Linked DNA regions of Homo sapiens: region 2 is linked to region 1. The links are contacts of gene promoters, found by promoter capture Hi-C in human tissues and cell types (Jung and others, 2019). All regions are on one chromosome and are shown on one strand. The core of a region is centred on a gene start or on the middle of the fragment in contact, and the rest is flanking DNA. Distances in the headings are between cores, read along the strand shown.

Region 1 (6,981 bases), core at 2,151-4,650:
CAAAGTAGCTATGAAAAGAAGTGTTACCTCTGACAGATTTGAACATTAACATCAAGCACACTGTTTCCAATGATAAGAATAATTACGCAAAGACATAATAAATAAATGTGCTCCCAGGAGGGGCAGGGATATGGAGACAGGATTTGACTATGACTGGCTGGCAGTATGTGTTTCAAGCAAATTCACAGATGTTATAAGTTGGAAAAGGTGGTAAATCATGGTCATGCTAACTTTGTAAAACTGTCAAGCACCATTATATGTAGGTGCTTTGCTTCTGAAGGTCCCTTGAAGTCAACTGTATAATTTTTTAAAAGATACCTTATAAAAATGTGATTCATATGAAATTCTCATTAAAAGTAACAAGTACCTATTATGCCTTGATTTCATAGTACTAAAAAAAATGTATTACAAAAGCATAAGGCCAATTGTAATATGTCATCAAAGAATAAGGTAATTAATCAAATATTCTATGGAGTTACCAGATAAAATGCTCACTAATCAAATTTTTAACACCAAATATTGTAAAGGTAGTAATTAATATTGCTCCTTTGCTCACTAAGGTATAACAAATGAAAGAACAAGGTAAGCTACTATTTATAAATTCTTCAGTAAATAGCAGCATAATTTAAAATTATATCATAAATGCTTGACAATCCTAGCTATCTAGAACATAGCAAAAAGAGCATCACCTTTAATGGACTTCATGACATAATTTATTCAGAGAGGGCCGGGCGCAGTGGCTCGTGCCTGTAATCCCAGCACTTTGGGAGGCCAAGCGGCAGGGGGGTGGGGTGCAGATCACTTGAGGTCAGGAGTTGGAGACCAGCCTGGCCACATGGTGAAACCCCATCTCTACTAAAAACACAAAAATTAGCCAGGAGTGCTGGCATACACCTGTAATCCCAACTACTTGGGGGGCTGATGCAGGAGAATCACTTGAAGGAGGCAGAGGTTGCAGTGAGCCCAGATCATGCCACTGCACTCCAGCCTAGGTGACAGAGCAAGACTCCATCTCAAATAAATAAATAAATAAATTATTTATTCAGAGAGGACCCTGTCAGGATCTGAGAGCCCACTTTTAGACACAGTTCTAAATGGGAAGATAGTAGGATACAGAATTTTGCTGAAAAGAAGCTTTTCAGTCTCTTAGAAGGGACAAAACTTTTATATCAAAGAATCTTCAATGTAAAAAAAAAAAAGTTTTTGGCTGGGCGCGGTGGCTCACACCTCTAATCCCAGCACTTCGGGAGGCCGAGGCGGGTGCATCACGAGGTCAGGAGATCGAAACCATCCTGGCTAACACAGTGAAACCCCGTCTCTACTAAAAATACAAAAAATGAGCCAGGCGTGGTGGCGGGCGCCTGTAGTCCCAGCTACTCGGGAGGCTGAGGCAGGAGAATGGCATGAACCCGGAAGGTAGAGCTTGGCAGTGAGCCGAGATCACACCACTGCACTCCAGCCTGGGCGACCAGAGTGAGACTCTGTCTCAAAAAAAAAAAAAAGTTCTTAGGTTGAGAAATATCATTCTAGCTCATGATGAATGAATTTCAAAATCCAATTATAACAATGGGAATGTATGAATGTGTGGTTTATCCCTAGAAAAAAAAACTCTGGAACCACTGGTATAAGGAAAACACTGACATTAAGGTGGGTAAGTCCTAACAATCTTAGTTTTATCTGATTCCCCCTATGACGAGGAACATGAAACATGTGAAAGGAAACTCAGTCTGCTAATGACAAAAACAAACGATGGCAGGCCATGCTCATACCTCAAGACCTTTCCACTGGTTCTCTCTACTCAGAACCTTCCCCAGATGTTCAAATGGCCCTCCCTTACTCCATTCAGGTCTCTTTAAATATCTCAGAGGCTTTCCCTCACCTGCCTCTTCCCTCTCTATTCCTTTACCCTACTTTTTCGCCACAGTACTTATTGCTAATTAACATGGCTGGTTTATCATCTGTCTCTTCCAGTAGAGTGTCTGTCAGATCTGTGGGAGGAATGACTTGTGCATCTGCATCACCAGCACTTAGCACAGTTCCCGGGGGGAACTTTGAGGACGGGGTTGTCCTCAAAGATTTCTTAGATAAATAAAGTGATAGAATCAAACTTTACAAGATGCAGCAAGAACTGTGTGAAGTCACTCATTTAATAGCGACACAAAATTATTCATGATTGCCCCAAGATTATCATAGAACATCCAATGAATTATGTACAGTAATTGTCATGAAGCATGAAAGGTCAAAATGCATTCTCAGTACTTTAAATGTAACTTTGAAGTCTTCCTTCAAAAATTGAGTAACTTCTTTTCCACATTTTGGTGCTTAAGATGTAACTCAGTTGCTTCCATTACTCAGAAAATTCCCTCATGGTGCATCCTCACTCTCTGCCCCACCAACCTGGCCAAAACAAGGAGCAAGAAATGGCATCCTGTACCATTTCTTTCAAAGTACCTCGACTACAAAATGGTTTTACCTACCGTATAGGATTAGTTTTGCTTATTAGTAACAATATTCGCCATGTGAACTTTCCCAGAATAGTTTTATATCAAATCCAACCTTCAACCCTTTAAACAGTAGGAAAACACGGCAGTTACAGTCGTTAACACCCTCTTCCCATAATACTCAAGCCTGTTAAACTTTCCTAACGAAAAGGGACGATGATGTGACACTCCAGCACCCCGCATCCACCTCCGCGGCGCAGCCGCTCTCTCCACCCCACAGGATGAACCCAAAGGCGCGCAGAGGCGCCCTCCCACGGCGCGTGACACCAGAGAAGGGGGATAAATTGGCGAGCTGGCATTCCTCCCGTCCTCACTGACGGACCCGCGAGCGGAGTGAGCGGTGACTCAGCCCGCTCCGGCTCGGCTCCGCCCTCCCGCCTCCCGCCCCGGCGTTCTCGCCCCGGCCTTGGCCTCTCCACTCCCTCCGCCCCGGTCCTGGCCCCCAGCCCTCCGCTGTCCTCCCCGGCTCCCTGACCCTCGAACCCCAGCCCTCCGCTCCCTCGTCCGGGCCCCACGTCCTCGGCCCGTCCCCCAGCCCTCTGCCCGGCCCTGCATCCTCGTTCCTCCAGCCCCGGAACGTATTAGGGCTGCACGCGCAGGGAGCAGCCCCCGGGACGGGTCTGCGGGCTTCGCGTCGCCCGGCCACTCTACCTTCGCTCCTGCCCAGGATCCTGCAGCACAGGTTCTGCAGCAGAACGTTCGGCGACTTCTGGTCCGGGGTCGCCATCCTCGCCCGGAGCCGTGCACGGTGGTCCGGGCAGAGCCGCCACTGCCGCCGCACGCGCAGGGACCGCGGCCCGCGCCCTTCCTGCGCCCCGCAAGCTCCCTGCTCCTGACAGGCTAAGGCGCGGGCGCCGCCGGCCACCAGGGCGCCATTTTAACGGAACCCGCCGAAAGCGCGGGCGCTTCCCACAATGCCCCGCTTCTTCCCTGCGCCGCGGCCGCGCGTGCGGCTGCCTAAGCGTTCCCGGCCCTGTCTGGTGCATTCCCCCTGCTGCTGCCCGGTCGGCCGAGAAAGTTCCGGGCGACAGGTGGCCCGAGGCCCTCGAGCTGCGCGGACAGAGCGGCCCCGGAGTCGCGAGCGTGACGGGCTTGCTTGGAGGGCACTTGGTGGCCGGTAGCACCATAAAGGCCATAATTTGGTGTGTGGGTGTGGGGGTGTGTGTGTTAACGGCATTGGTTTGATTCACACTTCTGATGAAAGAAGCCTGTTTAAAAAAGAAAAGAAAAAAGAAGCCTGTTTAAAGGGTGCAGGGTGTTACGATTGTTAACGTGCAGTGGGCAGTTCACCTGCTACGCTATCCAACAGGCGCCCTGCTCAGGCCCGACCTCGCACTGCCGCGCGGGCCGGTCCCCCCCGGCCCGGGTAACTGGGACGTCCTGGGAAAATAAATTAATCACGTACGGAGTGAGAGAACAGGAAACCTGCCGAGAAAAAGATCGATAAGCAGACAATTACACCAAGCCAACTTCAGTGCAATCGTTAAAGCTTACACATGGGTGCACGCTTGGGAGCCGTGAGCTACCATGTTAAAAGGCCAACTTCCTAAGGAAAAATGATGGAAAGAGATCCCGAGATCCTATGAAATGGAAGAGGGAGGACAACCCAGCTATCCCAACATCCCAGCTGAGGCCAGCCACACACGTGACTGTCTGCAAAGCCCGTCGGGCCTGGGTCCAGCTCAGGTTGCAGAATTGTTGGCAAGTAAAACGTTTGTTGTCGTTCTGACTCAAAAACATGGAGACAAAGCAGACTTGTAGGGTATTACAGTCAACAACTAGACCCTACAGCTAAAGGACTGTCTCCTTGCATGATGCAACAACCATCACAGCTCTGCAAGAGCAACCAAACCACCAAGGATGCGATCACCCCTCACTGCCTTCGATACGCATTCTGTGGAAACGCTTCTAAACTTGCATCACACTCAACACGATCAGTTAGTAACTGGCTTCTCATGAAGTTATTCTCTCAGCCGCATACTACAATGTCCAGATGTCATCTAAATCCTGCCACCCTCTCCCCCACCTTCAGCTGAAACGCTGCATGACTGCATCATCTTACCTGACCAGCTCTCTCCTAGGACAGACATGCAAGAACCCCCCTCACTAACGCTGATGTTATTTGGTTTACAGATGGCTCTTACTTAAAGATGCAGCTGGAAGGTATTACACTGGTTATGCCATAGCGTCTTTGCCCAAAGAAATAGAAAGTGCTTGTCTTCCAGGAGCAATCATCTCAACAAGCAAAGTTAATAGCATTAATTAGAGCCTGTCAGTTGGCAAAAGGAATAACTGCTAATCTTTATACCAATAGCAGGTATGCTTATAGAGTAGCTCATAACTTTGGAATGCTATGGAGACAAAGGATTTTTAACCTTTTCTAGTCAGCCCACAAAAAAATGGGTGCCTTGTTTCAGAATTATGGCAAGCCATACTATTGCCAAAATCATTAGCCATTATCAAGATTCCAGGCCATTCAAAGACACTCAAAAAAGCAAGATAAGCCAGTTAGCAGGTAGTATAGCAAACAGGGTGGCCATAAACATATCTGAACAAAAAGATCAAACCATTTTGGCCTTTAAGGAAGTTAGATTTTTATGTAAAATTAGCTCAATCTAAATCTCCAAAAACAGGACGAGAAAATTGGGAAACAAAAGTGGCACATGCGCTTCTGAGACTGATGTACGGTTTGACCAAATGTTCTACTCATACTTCCAACTAAGTTACAACCATCTTTCTTTTTTTTTTTTTCTTTTTCAGATGGAGTCTCGCTCTGTTGCCCAGGCTGGAGTGCAATGGCGTGAACTCCACCTCCTGGGTTCACGCAATTCTCCTGCCTCAGCCTCTTGACTAGCTGGGACTACAGGCACCCGCCACCATGCCGGGCTAATTTTTTGTATTTTTAGTAGAGACGGGGTTACACTCTGTTAGCCAGAATGGTCTCGATCTCCTGACCTCGTGATGTGCCCGCCTCGGCCTCCCAAAGTGCTGGGATTACAGGCGTGAGCCACCGCGCCCGGTCCAGCCATCTTTCTTAACGTGCATACACGATGTGACTCACTGGAGCCCTGATAAGATTATTGATTTCTTGAGGAGAACAATGTTGTCGGAAACCTTCTCCAACTGTTGCTCACGGGTATACAGTCAGGGCTGTCTTCCCAGAATATAATGCAAGGAAACCTTGACCCAGTTCTCCATGTCATTTTCCTTTACCAGAAGGCCCTTTCGAGGTATGGCAACTAGATTTTTTCAGCTACCACCATCACAAAGATACAGGCACATCCTAGTGATGGTTTGTGTATTTTCTCATGGGTAGAAGCATTTCCATGCAGAAGAGCAGCAGCCTTGGCGGTAAGTAAAATTATCTTAGAGAAAATTATTCCGATTTGGGGAGTTCCTCAAGAACTTTATAGCAACAGAGGCACTCATTTCACTGCACAAATAATCCAGTTAGTATGCAAAATCTGGCCCATTTTCCAGCATTTCCATTGTGCCTATCACCCCAGTCATCTGGGTTAGTAGAATGCACAAGCAGAATAATCAAAACTCATTTGGCAAAATTAACTGAAGTTTTAAAACTCCCTTGACTGGAAGCTCTTTCTTGTTTTTGCTTCACCTAAGATCAGCCCTTATGGGTAAACACCAACTGTCTTCATCTGAAATTATAACGGACAGACCTATGAAATTGTCTCCAGGAAATTGTAAATCGATGATATTAAAAAGGGACAGGTTGTATTATTGCAGCAGCCTCATAAGGCACCTAAGTAAAAACTGTTATTTAGTAAAAGATTCTTTCCACAGTGAGCTCCAAGAAGCAAAAACTCAAGGAACACATACTTCAGCCAGGAGACTTTGTAGGAAACAGCATCCTTTAAAGGACTTTCTCCACCAAGGAGGAAGGAACCTTATCAGGGACTCCTAACCAACCCTTGTGCCACTAAGCTTAAAGGAGTTGATTCCTGGATACCTGCCACCCATGCAAGGAAAGCTGCTTTGTCAATTTGGACTTCATCTCAAATTGGTGATCTAAAACTAAAACTCTCCAGAACCAACAAGGATGAGAAGAAAACAACATGTGAGGCGATCAGCCTTCTCAAGACACCTGACCAGGCCTGTATCTAGACAAACCCTTAATATAATCATCGTCAGTAGATGAGGAAGGTCTTCCTTTACAAGTTCCCACCACACTTCCTTCTTTTTGTCCCTAGTTCTTCTGTTTTGTTGCTACCATCACCAGCCATTGCCCATGAAACAAACATCTTCTTGCAGTAGGCTTGGGCCTGTGCTAGTAAATTACAGGACAACACTCGTTAGGTGTGTGGCCTTGCGCCCCTTTCTGGTGGTTCTGGCCTACCATGGTGGCAGCTCCTCTTCAAGGACAAGAGTAGACAGAATATCAGAAATGTGTCTGTGTTTCTCAGGACAGTCATTGGTGCTTAGCACTAGTATGATGAAGGCAAGTGTGCATCACTGGCCTATG
Region 2 (6,981 bases), core at 1,535-4,034, 88 kb after region 1:
CCTTTTTGAGATGGACTTTCGTTCCTTCTTTCTTGCTTGCTTTTTTCTTTCTTTCTCCTTTTTGAGATGGAGTTTCCTTCCTTCCTTCCTTCCTTCCTTCCTTCCTTTCTTCCTTCCTTCCTTCCCTCCTTCCTTCTTTCTTTCTTCTTTTTTGAGACAGAGTCTTGCTCTGTCGCTCAGGCTGGAGTGCAGTGGCGCAATCTCGACTCACTGCAACCTCCACCTGCCGGGTTCAAGCTATTCTCCTGTCTCAGCCTCTGGAGTAGCTGGGATTACAGGCACCCGCCACCATGCCCAGCTAATTTTTCTATTTTTAGTACAAACGGGGTTCACCATGTTGCGCAGGCTAGTCTCAAACTTCTGAGCTCTGGTGATCTGCCCGCCTTGGCCTCCCAAAGTGCTGGGATTACAGGCGTGAGTCACCGCGCCCGGCGCCTGTATTAGTTTCTTTTTGCTGTATAGCAAATGATCCCAGGTTTAGGTGCTTAAAACCACACACGTTTCTCACTCTTCGTTTCCATGGGTCAAGAGTCTGCATGTGACCAGCTGGGTCCTCTCATCGGGGCCTCACAAGGCTGAAGTCAAGGTGCTGCTGGGGCCAGGTGCTCATCCGAAGGTCAAGGTCACCTTCAAGCTTACTGGCTGTTGGCAGCATCCAGGTCCTTGTGCTTGTGGGATTGAGGCCCCTGTTTCCTGCTGCTGCCTGCTGGGAACTGCTCTCAGTTACTAGAGGCCCCTCTGCTCCCTCTCATGTGGCTCTCCACAAAGCACGGCAGTTTCCTCCCTCAAGGCCAACAGGAGCATATCTCTGCAGCCTCAAATCGCTCTAACTTTCCCTATCTTTTATCCAGGTCCACCCAAGATAACCCTCCCTTTGACTAGCTCAAAATTGACTGATTAGGGATCTTAATTCCACTGCAGAATTCCTTCATATTTACAAGAGAATGTAGCCTGATCAGGGGAGAAACATCAGCCTCCGTTCCCACCAAGGAGAGGGGACTGCACGGAGCCCCCGAGCATGGGGTGGGAACATTGTGAGCCCTATCAGAACTGTGCCTCCCGAAGTCCCAGAGACAGAAGCGGCTCAGGAATGAGGGGAGCACGGCAGCACTGAGTCTACAGGGTGGATGCGGTTTGCCCAGCACGGAAGGAAGATGTTCCAGGGGGATGAGACAGCAATGCTGAGAAAGGAAGGAAATCTGGGTAAATATGTAGAGGTTGGCCACATTATGATAGACTGTGACGACCAGTTGGAGAATTTTGTATTTCATGCTATAAAAAGCAACCAAATCTAGTTAATATACGCTAAGTTGGGTAACAGGATCAGATTCTTTACAGTAAAGCTTACAAAAGTAAAATTATTTTATAATTGTATTATAGCAAACAACAGGGTTTAAAAATGGTCCCTTAAAAATGAGCCTTAAAAATAAGCAGCCACTTAATACTCATTTGGGCCTGAAAGCCACAAAGCTATTGACATTTTCTTTCTGCTGAGGAAGTCTTGGTGGTATCGATTCTCATACAGCAGAGATCAAGACAAACATCTTGTACCTCCTCTTCCCCACCTGCCTCTAAAGCAAACGCTGATCTGATGACATTGTCATGAGGCCTGCTCACCCTCAGCAGCTTCCTAGTGTGTCCTGGGTGTGGGCATCCAGTGCCAATAAATGGAGGAAAATGGGCAGACAGGGAGAGGTGGGAGCAGGTGGGAGGAAAGGAAGGGGGGAGGGAGGGAGGCGGAGAAAGGCAAGCTTAAGGGAAAGGTGGGGCATCCTGTCATGCTAGGGTTCACGGAGTGGCAAGAGGTTCCCAGCCCTGCCCGCCGCTGACCCCGGCTCACATGGCCTCACCAGCCTCGCATCAGTCATGGTTCCAAGTCCTCAGGAATAACAACAACAACAAGAGTTAATTTTTTTTATTTTTCCATTGTAATTTATATGGAATTCTGAACAATGGAAAATCAGAGCCCAAACAGGTGACAAAGAAGTTCATTAAGAGCCTTGCGAAACTGAGAGCACATCCAGAATCCCTCTCGCACTTATATCTGTGAAAGACACGACCTCTGGCCAGTCTCCCACAGACACTCCCCATTCCCTATCACGCAATGTGATGTACTCACTGCGACCGCAGGCCTGCTCCTGCTTCCCATCACTTCACCCGTCCTGTTCAGCAGATGCTCCCCTTGAAGAGCTGGAAAAAATTGGTGTTTAGGAAAGGCCTTGAAGATAGAAATGAATGCAAATGCTGTTATTATTATTAATAATATTTCAAAGTGGGCACACGGAACTCGATGACATTTTAATTGTTTGATTTTATTGGACAGGAGGCAAAAGACTTTTTATTTTTATCTTCAAAGTCTAAAGGCGCGTCAGGTGCACAGACTGCAGTAGGGTTTGCTCTGGGTGTTGGGTTCTGGCTGACGATGTTTGCTCAAAAGCTCATTTCTTACAGCTTCTGAAAGTAGATTGAAGAAAGCGCTCCCCACCGTAGCCTCCGTGGTGCAGAGATTCTCCAGGCATTTGCTTGTCATGTGAGATGTTACACTAACCCAAGCACTATAATTTTACTACCTCCTGCTAAGCTAGTCCAGAGATTGATCATTTCTATCCAGAACTGGCAAGCCTCCCTTCCTTTATATTTCAGATTGAAGAACAGGAGAAAAAACTTTCAGAAAATGATTTATAGTGGAAAGGTACTGGTTTAAACTTAACCTACTTGCTATTTGAAACAAGTTCTTTTAATTAAAGTGAAATTCTCTGTGTAAAACATCATTTTAAGAAATTTTCATAATGCATTTTGCTTTTTTAAAGTCTTGTATTTAGTAAAATGCAAAAAGTCTAGTCCTTCTGAAGACTCCCTCATAACATCTCCTCACACACCCACTTGCACTCACACCTCCAATCCAAAGGTTCATGGGGATACTTTGTTATCTAATTTTGTTGTCAATGTGATTCATAGGTTTTTGGTTTTGCTATCTAGTTGTTCTGTTTTAATTTTGGGATTTAGAAAGATTAAACACTATGCCACCACCACGTTTCACTTTGAACATTTTGAAGACAAATATTTCCTACCTGTGACTAACATATCCAGCCAAATTATCCATCACTATAAGGTCAGAAAAATATTTTAACTGCTGATGTTTCATGCACCCTTTCCCAGGAAGCTACTAGAGAATACAGTCCACTAAATTAAACCGATAAATCAAGGAGGAAGAAAAAATCATGGAATGCAGAAAATAAGGGCTTATGAGAGAAGTGGAGGGAATTCCTGATACCTGTGAAGTGTAGCCAGAGTATAGAAGTATGCAGCAAGTTTAGAAACTCACCGTCGATTGCAGCAGGATGCCAAAGGGTGGCAGGAGGGATGTCTCCAGAAAAAAATAGAATGGCACTGACAAATACGAGTGTATGGCTGTGACCGGAGTATAGAAGTATGCAGCAAGTTTAGAAAGTCACCGTCAATTGCAGCAGGATGCCAAAGGGTGACAGGAGGGATGTCTCCAGAAAAAAATAGAATGGCACTGACAAATACGAGTGTATGGCTGTGACCGGAGTATAGAAGTATGCAGCAAGTTTAGAAAGTCACCGTCAGATTGCAGCAGGATGTCAAAGGGTGACAGGAGGGATGTCTGCAGAAAAAAAATAGAATGGCACTGACAAATACGAGCGTATGGCCGTGAACTAGTAGAAACTATACAGAAAGCTAAGAAAATGAGGCCGGGCACAGTGGCTCACACCTGTAATCCCAGCACTTTGGGAGGCCGAGGCAGGAGGATCACTTGAGGTTAGGAGTTCGAGACCAGCCTGGCCAACATGGTGAAACCCCGTCTCTACTAAAAATACAAAAATTAACCAGGCATGGTGGCGGGCCCCTGTAATCCCAGCTACTTGGGAGGCTGAGGCAGGAGGATCGTTTGAACCAGGGAGGCGGAGGTTGCAGTGAGCTGAGATTGTGCCACTGCACTCCAGCCTAGACAACAAAGTGAGACTCTGTCTCAAAAAAAAAAAAAAAAAAAAAAAGAAACCTAAGAAAATGAAAGATGGAGGCAATGATTATCTTCAAGGAAAAAAGGTGGTATAAGAAAGAAGATGCAGTGAAAATGCATGAACAACACAGGGGCAGCGTGTAGCACATGCACGGACATGCAGCTATGAGAATGTAATCTTGTTACCATCACAGGCAGAGATTGAATGGAGACCGGTGTGGCCTCTGTGGGGACACGTGCAGTAGAGAGAGGTAGAGGTAGGAGCACGAATGAGCTAAATATTTATCTTCCTATGTAACTGGTGCTGTTGAAATTTTCAAAATCATGCTATAAGCACATAATTTGGAAATATGGACACAATAAAGGTAGAAGAGCAAAGAGCTATGAGTGATTGTCTCTGCAGGGGGCTCTGGAGTAGGTGATGACAAGGACATCGGGTTATTCTTACAGGCCGGGTAGCACCATTTTCTTTTAAAACTATGCAAATGCAGCCAGGCGCACTGGCTCATGCCTGTAATCTCAGCACTTTGAGAGCCGGAGGCATGTGGATCACCTGAGGTCAGGAGTTTGAGACCAGCCTGACAACATGGTGAAACCCTGTCTCTACTAAAAATATAAAAATTAGCTGGGTGTGGTGGTGGCGCATGCCTGTAATCCCAGCTACTCTAGAGGCTGAGGCAGGAGAATCACTTAAACCCGGGAAGCAGAGGTTGCAGTGAGTCAAGATCACGCTGCTGCATTCCAGCCTGAGCGACAGAGCAAGACTCCAACTCAAAAAAAAAAAAAGCATTTCTTTGGCTAAAATTAAAATAAAGTTGTTTTTTTTAATTTTAATTTTAATTTTAATTTTTATTTTTTAGTATTTATTGATCATTCTTGGGTGTTTCTCGGAGAGGGGGATTTGGCAGGGTCACAGGACAATAGTGGAGGGAAGGTCAGCAGATAAACATGTGAACAAAGGTCTCTGGTTTTCCTAGGCAGAGGACCCTGCGGCCTTCCGCAGTGTTTGTGTCCCTGGGTACTTGAGATTAGGGATTGGTGATGACTCTTAACGAGCATGCTGCCTTCAAGCATCTGTTTAACAAAGCACATCTTGCACCGCCCTTAAGCCATTTAACCCTGAGTGGACACAGCACATGTTTCAGAGAGCACAGGGTTGGGGGTAAGGTCACAGATCAACAGGATCCCACGGCAGAAGAATTTTTCTTAGTACAGAACAAAATGGAGTCTCCTATGTCTACTTCTTTCTACACAGACACAGTAACAATCTGATCTCTCTTTCTTTTCCCCACATTTCCCCCTTTTCTATTCGACAAAACCGCCATCGTCATCATGGCCCGTTCTCAATGAGCTGTTGGGTACACCTCCCAGACGGGGTGGCGGCCGGGCAGAGGGGCTCCTCACTTCCCAGACGGGGAGGCCGGGCGGAGGGGCTCCTCACTTCTGGGACAGGGTGGCCGGGCAGAGACACTCCTCACCTCCCAGACGGGGTGGCAGTTGGGCAGAGACACTCCTCAGATCCCAGACGGGGTCGCGGCCGGGCAGAGACGCTCCTCACTTCCCAGACGGGGTGGCGGCCGGGCAGAGGCTGCAATCTCGGCACTTTGGGAGGCCAAGGCAGGCGGCTGGGAGGTGGAGGTTGTAGCGAGCCGAGATCACGCCACTGCACTCCAGCCTGGGCACCATTGAGCACTGAGTGAACGAGACTCCGTCTGCAATCCCGGCACTTCGGGAGGCCGAGGCGGCAGATCACTCGCGGTCAGGAGCTGGAGACCGGCCCGGCCAACACGGCGAAATCCCGTCTCCACCAAAAATACAAAAACCAGTCAGGCGTGGCGGCGGCGCCTGCAATCCCAGGCACTCGGCAGGCTGAGGCAGGAGAATCAGGCAGGGAGGTTGCCGTGAGCCGAGATGGCGGCAGTACAGTCCAGCCTCGGCTCAGCATCAGAGGGAGACTGTGGAGGGAGAGGGAGAGGGAGACGGGAGAGAGGGACACGGGGGAGAGGGAGACGGGGGAGAGGGAGACCGGGGAGAGGGAGAGGGAGAGGTAAAGTTTTTACAAAGTTTCATTGTAATACAGAAAATAAACTCTTGGTGTACCCTTGTAGAATTACACAGAAGAAAACCAACCATTCGATGCCTTTCTTCTTCCATTCCCAATCAGAAGGTTGTTTCTGACCCATTGAAATATTACCTACAAAGAAGACGGGAGCCTCCTGCAGCAGCCTCTAGTGATCTGAGAGCTGAACCAAGGTTTGAGGCCCATCTCCAGGTGGTCCTGAATATCCGTGCATCCTGGGACCTTGTTAGGATGAACTCACCAGAGGCGAGGCTCTGCGTTGCTCAATGCAGAGACTCTTACCCAGGGTGTCAGCCTCTGAAAGATACACGTGCCTGGGCCTCTTCCCTGAAGATGGACCCGGCAGGTCTGGAGGGAGGCCCCCGTGATGAATCCCGTGATGAGCCGCCGATCCGAGCTCAGGCTGCGTCATGGGACCAGCCACAAGGTTGCCTGACCTATAAAGGTCGCAGGAGTGCCTCAGGGACACAGAAGCAGTTACAGCTGCCAGGTAGGGGCTGGGGAGGGCTCCGAGCTGTGGCTGCAATTTGAAAACTGTGCGGAACCTCAGCAGGGGTGTGAGCTATCAGGAACCTGCCGCTGGACTACAGCGACCAGGAGAATACGGGTTCTGTGCATCCGATGTGGGGGACCAAGCAGAAAGGAAAAACCCTTGCTGAGCAGACTGTGCATTGGGCAGCCTGCCGGCCACTTTATACAGATTCTGTCATTCAGCTGGGGTCTCTCTGCTCCCTGATACTAACCACACCCACCAGACCATCTTCCCTCCAGCTGGGGAAACGTGCCACAGAGCCCTTTACCTTCCAGAGCCTCGGCCCATCTGGCTCTCCTCATCACCCTGGGCCAGGCCCATCACTCCTGTTTCATGCTTGAAGGCAGTGAGGTGGGTGCCGGGCTCCCCTCTCCCACAGGGTGC

What was found. Contacts are between HindIII fragments. The study calls those that stand out against the background at their distance.
Region 2: a fragment that was not itself captured here is called in contact with the fragment with the promoter of TUBGCP3 in region 1 in 2 of the 25 tissues and cell types used here (pancreas and spleen).

What each region holds. Positions count from the first base shown.
Region 1 is chr13:112,584,753-112,591,733 of GRCh38, forward strand. TUBGCP3 (tubulin gamma complex component 3) reads right to left here and starts at 3,401. Exons shown (of 22, transcript NM_006322.6): 1 at 3,153-3,401. The coding sequence starts at 3,228. LOC124903251 (a long non-coding RNA gene) reads left to right here and starts at 3,434. Exons shown (of 2, transcript XR_007063945.1): 1 at 3,434-4,664; 2 at 5,262-6,981. RefSeq lists silencers at 2,872-2,991, 3,022-3,081, 3,112-3,331 and an enhancer at 3,397-4,216. The HindIII fragment of the contact is 4,898 bases long and covers 319-5,216 here.
Region 2 is chr13:112,673,084-112,680,064 of GRCh38, forward strand. It overlaps ATP11AUN (ATP11A upstream neighbor lncRNA), which reads left to right. Exons shown (of 3, transcript NR_164109.1): 2 at 6,094-6,555. Among named protein-coding and RNA genes, the nearest start is that of ATP11A, 13 kb to the right of the region's middle. The HindIII fragment of the contact is 8,066 bases long and covers 1-6,817 here.